Regions from separate parts of the Homo sapiens genome. Here region 2 is linked to region 1. The links are contacts of gene promoters, found by promoter capture Hi-C in blood cells and fetal thymus (Javierre and others, 2016). All regions are on one chromosome and are shown on one strand. The core of a region is centred on a gene start or on the middle of the fragment in contact, and the rest is flanking DNA. Distances in the headings are between cores, read along the strand shown. Region 1 holds the start of COX7C (cytochrome c oxidase subunit 7C). Region 2 overlaps MRPS27 (mitochondrial ribosomal protein S27).

The links. Contacts are between HindIII fragments. The CHiCAGO score rates a contact against its expected background, and 5 or more counts as called.
Region 2: a fragment that was not itself captured here is called in contact with the fragment with the promoter of COX7C in region 1 in 2 of 17 cell types (naive CD8 T cells and activated CD4 T cells); the score reaches 8.5 in naive CD8 T cells.

What each region holds. Positions count from the first base shown.
Region 1 is chr5:86,615,351-86,619,687 of GRCh38, reverse strand. It overlaps COX7C (cytochrome c oxidase subunit 7C), which reads right to left and starts at 1,747. Exons shown (of 3, transcript NM_001867.3): 1 at 1,558-1,747; 2 at 192-335. The coding sequence starts at 1,632. The coding sequence ends at 219. RefSeq lists enhancers at 657-1,322, 1,620-1,709, 1,642-1,936, 1,323-1,988, 2,000-2,079. The HindIII fragment of the contact is 5,230 bases long and covers 1-4,337 here.
Region 2 is chr5:72,303,480-72,307,816 of GRCh38, reverse strand. The region is part of intron 2 of MRPS27 (mitochondrial ribosomal protein S27); the gene reads left to right. Among named protein-coding and RNA genes, the nearest start is that of MRPS27, 15 kb to the left of the region's middle. The HindIII fragment of the contact is 2,782 bases long and covers 1-2,641 here.

The DNA of each region.
Region 1 (4,337 bases), core at 498-2,997:
CAATAAACACTGGCCATTATTGAAATATTTTTATATAGGTTTACAACTAGTCTCCACCAATGCCACATCTACACATAACCTCAGGAATCAGCCCTACACAACAATGTATTTGTGTGTGTGTTCTGGGTGATGGGGAAGAGGCTACTTAATAAAAAGGCCTGCTTTAACATGATTAGAAATCCACTAACTACCTGTTAAATGGAGGAACTGAAACATCCTTATGTTTTAAGCAGTTGGTGTCTTACTACAAGGAAGGGTGTAGCAAATGCAGATCCAAAGTACAAACACATCTTAGCTAGTAACGACCACTTGTTTTCCACTGAAAATGGCAAATTCTGTTGGAAAAAAAGAGAAAAAGTAATCGAAATTGAATCTCAAATCATCTGCTTAATAATCAAAATACAAGTATACAGGAAATGCTAGTTATATTTTACATCATCAGGTTAACATATGCCATAAATCATAACATCGTTTTAAACATTTATCTTTCAAATCCTATGACCTTCATCACAAAACACTACATGGCAAGAAATAATCTGGCTTTACTAAGCACTAGGCAATGAATGGTCTTGAGGACTCAAACGTCAAATAGTGAGAAGTTTCTTACTTTAGAAAATCGAAAAAACTACTGTCCTAAGTAGTCACCTTAGAAGATACATGGCAATGTTAAGTGCAATACAGCTCTTTTTTTTTCTTTTTTTTTTTTTTTGAGACGGAGTCCCGCTCTGTCCAGGCTGGAGTGCAGTGGCCCGATCTCGGCTCACTGCAACCTCCACCTCCCGGGTTCAAGCGATTCTCCTGCCTCAGCCTCCCGAGTAGCTGGGATTAGAGGCACACACCACCACGTCCGGCTAATTTTTTTGTACTTTTTAGTAGAGACAGGGTTTCGCCATGTTGGCCAGGCTGGTCTGGAACTCCTGACCTCAGGTGATCCGAACGCCTTAGCCTCCCGATTACAGGCGTGCGCCACCGCACCTGGCCCACAGTTTTTTTTGTTTGTTTGTTTTTCATTACCAAGCACCTTCTCTGGCCTTTATGACTAGGCCTCGTGTGACCCTCCGAGATTGTTACTGCTATGTGGTTTAAGTTATTTACACCTGAGGCCAAACCCAGCCTTAACTGAGGTGAAGGGTTAGTACTTCTAACTTAGGCAGCTAGTTTAAAAAGCCTGTTCCATAACCAGAGGCCCTGATTTCCTCATGATTTTCCAATGACCTTCATTTCGGGTCCGATGACCTCCAGCTCGGATTTAACCAACACACCTACAGCCGTGGCCTCCCGGAGCCATCTCAGGGCTTTCTGCGGGGCGGGGGAGGGGGCGTCAGGTGGCTGATGGAGGCAGGGCTTCCGGATCTACCTGCCCATTCCTTTAGCGGCTACGCGCTAGGATGCCCAGCTTCCTCACTGGTCCTTGGGCTAAGTGGAATGCTAGTCTGCGTCTCAGCCTGGTTTCTGGCTATCATCTCCCACGCCACAGCCCGGAGGCGGCCTTGCAGGTGCGCGAGTCACAGCCAAGCGCCCCCTCCCCCAACGAAGCCGTGCCCCTTACACACTAACCTTCCCAGGGCCCTCCTCATAGTGGCTCCTACGGACCACAGAGGTTGTGAACCTCCGGATGCTCTGGCCCAACATACCGCTGCTGGAAGCTCTGCGAAAGGCGCAGAGAATGAGGACAGATGAAATGGCGGCACCTCACCAAGACCTTTTTTTTCACGACCTTGTTCCCCGGTGCGCAAGGACTGAAAAGAAAGATGGGAAATGGGGCGGAGCCTTGAGGAAACGCGACAAAGCGGAAATCGCCCTGGATTGTGGGAATTGTAGTTCAGACCATTGCGGAGCCTTATCAGCCCCCGAAGGATTGTGGGAAATGTAGTTTCGCGCCAGGCTTAGGTCTAGGATTCCTGGGGCCTGTTACCGGAAACGATTTTATTGAATCAAGTGAAGCAGTTTCACCCCGTATACTCTAGTCTGTTGAAAAGGACAATAAACCCATCCCTTTTCTCTTCTTTCTTTCTTTTTTAAAAATAAAGTATATGCTAGGTGTCAATGATTTCGAGGACTTTTGCCAATGCTGAGAGATATGTGCTAATGATCCTAGCTGAAGAAACAAAGCATAAACACAAGTAATCAAACAACGTGCAGCACAAAGGACTTCAGAGAGAAAACTGAAATGCTAAGGGAATGATCACTAAAGATAATGGGAATCGAATAAAAAAGAAGGAAGAACAAAGGGCAGGGAAAACTCAAGTCTGGTATGAGTACAGCATGTGTGAGGAGTAGAAGGGAAAAGTGGCCTCTGACACCTGGAGCTAGCCTGGACTAGGAACTGGTGTCCGCCTGATGAACGTACACAATTTCAGCAAGCATTAGCATCCAACAAGACCACTCTGACAGTGTTCATTAAGAAAAGAATATGATCACTGTGTAATCACATCTGAACACAGATAAAACATTGTCCAAGCCACGAAAATGACCGGACATCACCCTATCTGGTTTAATTTGATGACTTCTGCTTCTTTACCAATTACAATCTTAGCCTTGATCTAGCCTTTCTTCCTCCTAAGATTTGGTAAGGTAGCCAATATTAGGAGAAAAAAATCCCAAATCCAATAAGCATTTTCTAATATTTTACAGAGAACCCTTACTGCAATGAATAATAAACCCCGTTTGTCAATTACATGTGTGCTTCTGGTGGTCTTTGACCAGAAGGTATTGAGAAGAAACCAGTGATAAATGAACCTGGGAAAGTGGTGTTAGGTTAGATTGTGAAAGGCCCTGGTAACCTAAATGTTATGTTATTCATCTGTGGGGGAGTGTATATTGCCTCACGTGTCTCATTTATATAGCATTAGGAAACAATTCCAATAAGACCTAAGGTTTGCTTTGAAAAGGGCATAACATATATGCTCTTTTCGTCTTTTTTTTTTTTTTTTTTTTCAGTTTTTGGAAGAGAACAACCATGCCCCTCCCCCCCAAAAAAACACTTAAAAAAAACACTTAAATTCATATTTTGTTTCAACAAGTAGCTTCTTTTTGAGTAGGGGTTCATGAAATGCATCATAACTGGTGTCCTCTACCACCTAATTTATAGAAGTTATGTGACATTCCATTTTTTTTTAACATTCCGTTCACTGCCTTTACATATTAAAGAATTCTGATTTAACTATAATTGAGAAACTTTTTCACACTTAATATTTCTAGATTACACTTTTCAATCTAGTGTGAGTAATGTTATCTGTGGATTTGGTTCATTGTTGCTTCTAATTCACATTAATTGAGCCTCCATTGGGTATCTGGCTTTGAGTTAACTCTTTAGGGACCTGCAGGGCAGAGATTCCAGAATATGGTTTCAGAACTGTCTGCCTTCTCATGGGCTTTGTGGTAAGTTAAATACAAAAAAAAAAAATATGTTTGGCCGGGCGCGGTGGCTCACGCCTGTAATCCCAGCACTTTGGGAGGCCAAGGCAGGCGGATCACGAGGTCAGGAGATTGAGACCATCCTGGCTAACACGGTGAAACCCCGTCTCTACTAAAAATACAAAAAATTAGCCGGGCGTGGTGTCGGGCGCCTGTAGTCCCAGCTACTTGGGAGGCGGGGGCAGGAGAATGGTGTGAACCCGGGAGGCAGAGCGTGCAGTGAGCCGAGATCACACCACTGCACTCCAGCCTGGGCGACAGAGCGAGACTCCATCTCAAAAAAAAAAAAAAAAAAAGTTTATACCTATGTAAATATGGGGGAGGGTGGTGGTTACACTCAAGTGCCGGGCATGTGAGTGAAGCTATCTTGGACACTTCAGCCCAGCCCCGCCCTCAGCTGAATATTGCTGAGTGACCACAGTCACTGCTGTGTGGAGCAGAGTTGTCTAGTTGACTCCTACCCAAAATGTTGTTCTAGAGATTTGTGTGGTATAATAAAATGGTTGTTTTTTCAAGTCATTAAGTTTGGGGTAGTTTTTTATGGAGCAACAAAGAGAGAACTAGAAGTAACACAGCTGTTCTATTTAAGGAAATTAGCCTTTCTTCTAGATGCCATGAGGAAAACAGTTTCTCATTACCAATCTGTAGATGAGAATTTGGCTGTATCATGTAAAATATTATCTTTGCTTCAAATATATCTTTCTCTGGAGTCATGTTTCTGTGATAGTTCTTCAGCTATAATGAAGATGGATGTGCCAAACATGCCAAAACATTGAAAGTATGGGAGGTAGAGTGGTTCCATTTGAAGGTGGTGTAGCAGCTGGCATATTCTAGAGAATGCTAGACACTCAGAAATGCACTTTGCAGCTTTTTGATGCTACTGATAAGTTAGGAGGTAAATTGAAGTGGGATTCAAAGTG
Region 2 (4,337 bases), core at 1-2,500, about 14 Mb after region 1:
TGATGAATTACCACAAAGCGAGTAAACCTGTGTAGGAAGCAAGAGCATTCCTACCGCTCCAGAAGCCCTTATTGCGGCCCCCACTTAGTCTCTCCAAAGGTAACCGGTATCCTGACTTCTAACGCCACAGATTTTTTTTTTTTAGTGTTTTAACATTTGAAGGTGTAGACACCTTGGTATAAGGAGCCCCCTTTACCCATCACCTGGCTTCAACAATTATCAGCTCTTAGTCTTTATTTTATCTTTATTACTGTTTCCCCATCCCGATGCTTTGGATAATTTTGAAGGAGATCCCAGGCAGTAAGTCATTTCATCCGTAAATATTTTGATACAGATCTCCAAAAGACAAGGGTGCTTTTCAATACCATTATCACACCTAAAATATTAATAGGGTTGTAAATATCACGAAATATCCAGTTAGTGTTCAGATATCCCTGATACTCTCTTTCTTATTTTATTTTATTTTCTTAGAGCCTTGCTCTTGTCGCCCAGGTTGGAGTGCAATGGCACGATCTCAGCTCGCTTAAACCTCCTCCTCCCAGGTTCAAGCGATTCTCCTGCCTCAGCCTCCCGAGAAGCTGGGATTACAGGCGCCCGCCACCATGCCCGGCTAATTTTTGTATTTTTAGCAGAGATGGGGTCTTGCCTTTTTGGTCATGCTGGTCTCGAACTCGTGACCTCGTGATCCGCCCACCTCGGCCTCCCCAAGTGCTGGGATTACAGGCGTGAGCCACCGCTCCTGGCTCAGGTATCCCTGATACTCTCAAATTTTTTTTTTTATGATTTGGTTGAATCAGGATTCAAATAAAGCCTCGTATAATACAATTGGTTGCTATGTGCCCCCGTTAACTCTTTCTGAATCTTTTTAATAGAAACATACAGAAGTAGAGAGAGTAGAATAAACCCCTGTGTACTGTCACCCAGCTCCAGCAATTATCAATTCCCTACCAGTGTTGTTTCATCAACTCCCCACCTGTTCACCAGATTACTTTTTAACAAACTTAATTATCGGGGTTTTTTTATATGTACTTTGATATGTACCTCTAAAAGATAAGGATTTTTAAAAACGTAATTAATCATACTATTCTAAAAAACTAGTACTTCTGTAATATTAAATATTCCATTAATGTTCACATTTTCCCAAATGTCTTATAAATTTCTTTTTAATTTAGTTTGTTGAAATGTGATCTAGATAAGGTCCATACCTTGCAATGTGTTGAGTTGTCTCAACTATCTTAGTTTGTAAGTTTTTTGCAATTTATTTATTGAACAAAACAGGTCTTTTTTGGAGTTTCCCACATTCTAGATTTGCTGATTTCATCCTTATTGTGGTGTTTAGCGTGCTCCTCTGCCTTCCATATGTCTTGTGAAACTGGTAGTTGGAGAAAGGGGCTTGATCAGATTCAGGACTTTTTATTTTGTCTTTTGGTATAAATACTTCATAGTAAGTGTTTACTTGTGTCAGTAAGCACACAGCATTTGATTGCCCCTCTGCGAAGTTAAAGGCCATTCATGATCTTTACTTAGATTTGTTATTTCATTTGAAGCTGCATACTATTGCTGTTTAAATTTTATCATTTCTTTTCATTTATTATCTAGGAAATTTTTATGACAGAACTTCCATTCATCAACAGTTTACTTACCCTGAAATAGTTTGTATATGAGTTAGCTTTCAAAATAACTTGCAAAAATGATGAATGAGGACTTCTTAAAATGTCATTAAGAACTCATAGATTTAAATAATTGAGACATTTTAATCCATTGCTGTTGATACTTTTATTGATAGGGCCATAGTTCAACTGTGCTCTGTAGAGCCCTGGGCTTTCCTACTTCAATCAGATTTCAACTTTTGATTGTTTCTGTACTGGGCTTCCCTTTGGCTAAAATAAACACTGAGTTAAAGCATTGTCTCTGGAATTCCTCCACTAACTTGCTGATTTGTTGGGGAGGTACAGGGTAAAAGTTATCAACATTTACTAGTTAACAGAATAGGATCCACTGTGAACAGGACTCAGGAGAAAACCACTGGGGAACTGGGTAGGGTGTTGGTAGGAGGGCAGGCCTCATGGGGAAGCTCCTTGAGTTCCATGAGAGGAAGTTTTCTTGAGTCTTTCTGACAAGGAGCGAGCACTCAGGTGACTTGAGCTGAATTCAGGATTCATGAGCCCTACTGGATTAAATATTTTATTTGTGATTTTTCACATCACAAAGTATAGGACACATTTTGGTTTGGGTTACTGTTTTGCTTGTTTGTGTTGGTTTCTCTTGGTTTGTTGGTTTGTTTTCTGTTGGTTTGTTTTTGGAGAACCTCCTTTTTGAATCCAAAGAGTATTTCCTTGACACATTTGCATTCAGGTCTGTCTCTTACAGACACTTCTTCCATTTTAGCTGAGATTTAGTTTTGCTGTGTCATTTCAGCTGTAGAGGCCTTTGGCTTTTTGCATGAATATTTCAGATCCTGCTCTTGAGGCCTGATGGAGATTTTCTGAAGTCTGCTTTCTTAACTTTTGTCAGTTCTGTATTTGCATCTCTGTGGCATCTATTCATTTTCCAGTTTCCATATTTGCCAAGTTCTAGAGATGGGTCTGACTTGTGCACATCACCGTTCTTTAGTCTCATTAATATATATGTACACAAAGCTTGATTTCATGTTTTTCCTTTATTGGATTTATTTATGTTAAAGCTTCTGGTGACAGACAAATAGAAGGAAGTCTAAAAATCTATGTCCAAATTGGTTGCTAGGCTAGTTTTCCATACTTCCTTCTGTATATTCAATGCATGATATATGTCATGTGTCCTCGTTTTTCTTTTAAAATGTGGGAAACAAAAACAGTTTCAGCCTGTATTTTTCAAGATCAGTTCTTCTAGGAAGGACAATAATAATCTGTACCTGTTTCTTTATTATATAAATTAGGTAAGGTATGCAGATGACCATAAGCCCAGAAAGAGTTTAGTGTTGCCTGAAAGGTTAACAGTAATGTGCAGTTATGTAGAAAAGAAAAACTGAAACCATTTCTCACCTGAAGCTAGAAGGATTCAATAAAGGATTCATATTTTTCTTCAGTGACCTTCATTATCACAACTTTGCCCCAGAGACCACACTCTTTTTTAAGAGGCTTGTTTTTCAACACATCTGTACTACAGATTTTGTGGTTATGTACTGTGAAGCTGTGTTACTTTGGTGTGCACCAGGTTAAAATTATCTTGGCAAAATGAATTTTTGGTCATTATGTAGTGACCCACATAATCTATAAAACTGCTTTTTGCCTGTAATCTATTGTGTCTGATATTAATACAACTGTACCAGCTTTATTTTGGCTTCCTAGTGTGTTTTTAATAATTTTCAACTCTTCTGTGTTTATATGATTTATATAGCTAGCTTTTATATTTTTAACCAATCTGACAATCATTATCTTTTAACTAGAAAATTTCGTCTATTTACATTATCATTTCATGATTACCAATATAATTGGATTTATTTCTGTCACATTTTGTGATTGGTTTCATCTTTCTTTTTTTTCTTTATTTTTTATTTTTGGATTGATTTTTACTTTTGGATTGTTTTTGTTTTTTACGTTTTTTTCCCCTCCACTGGTCTGGAGATTATATCCTCTACTTTTTTAGAGATTGTTGCCCTTTAACTTCTAAAATGCATATCTAGCTTAAATTGTAATGCTCATCACACTCTACTATCCTTTAGGACACCTTAGGTCCACACACACACATCTAACCATATGCTCTTGTCTAATAATAAAGTTTTATCCTTTAAAACACATATAACATTATTTTAAACAGTCAGTTCCCCCCCAATTTAACCAATTTTATTGAGTTCTAAAAATTTCCTTTAGTATTTGTTGCTAATACATTTTCTGTTTTTGTTTGTCCAAAAATGTCTTCATTTCGCCCTTATCTTTTTTTTTTTTTTTTTTTTTTTGAGATGAGGTCTTGCTGTGTTGCCCACACTGGCCTCCAACTCCTGGGCTTAAGTGATCCTCCCACCTCAGCCTCCTGAGTAGCTGGGTCTACAAGCACATGCCAGCATACCCATATTTTGCCCTTATTTTTTAAAGATAATCTTGCTAGATATGCAATTTTAGGTTGATAGTTTATACTTGCAACATTTTGAACATTTTATTCTATTTTCTGGATTTTATCATTCCTATTGAGAAAACACCTGTTAGTATAGTTGTTTCTTTCTTTGTAATTTCTCTTTTCTTTCTGGCCACTTTTGAGATCCTCTCATTCATCGTTTTTGAAATAATAATTTTACTTTTTTGACTTGAGATTGTATACATATCCTGAATCTAGAAACCTATATTTTTTATCAATTCTAAAAA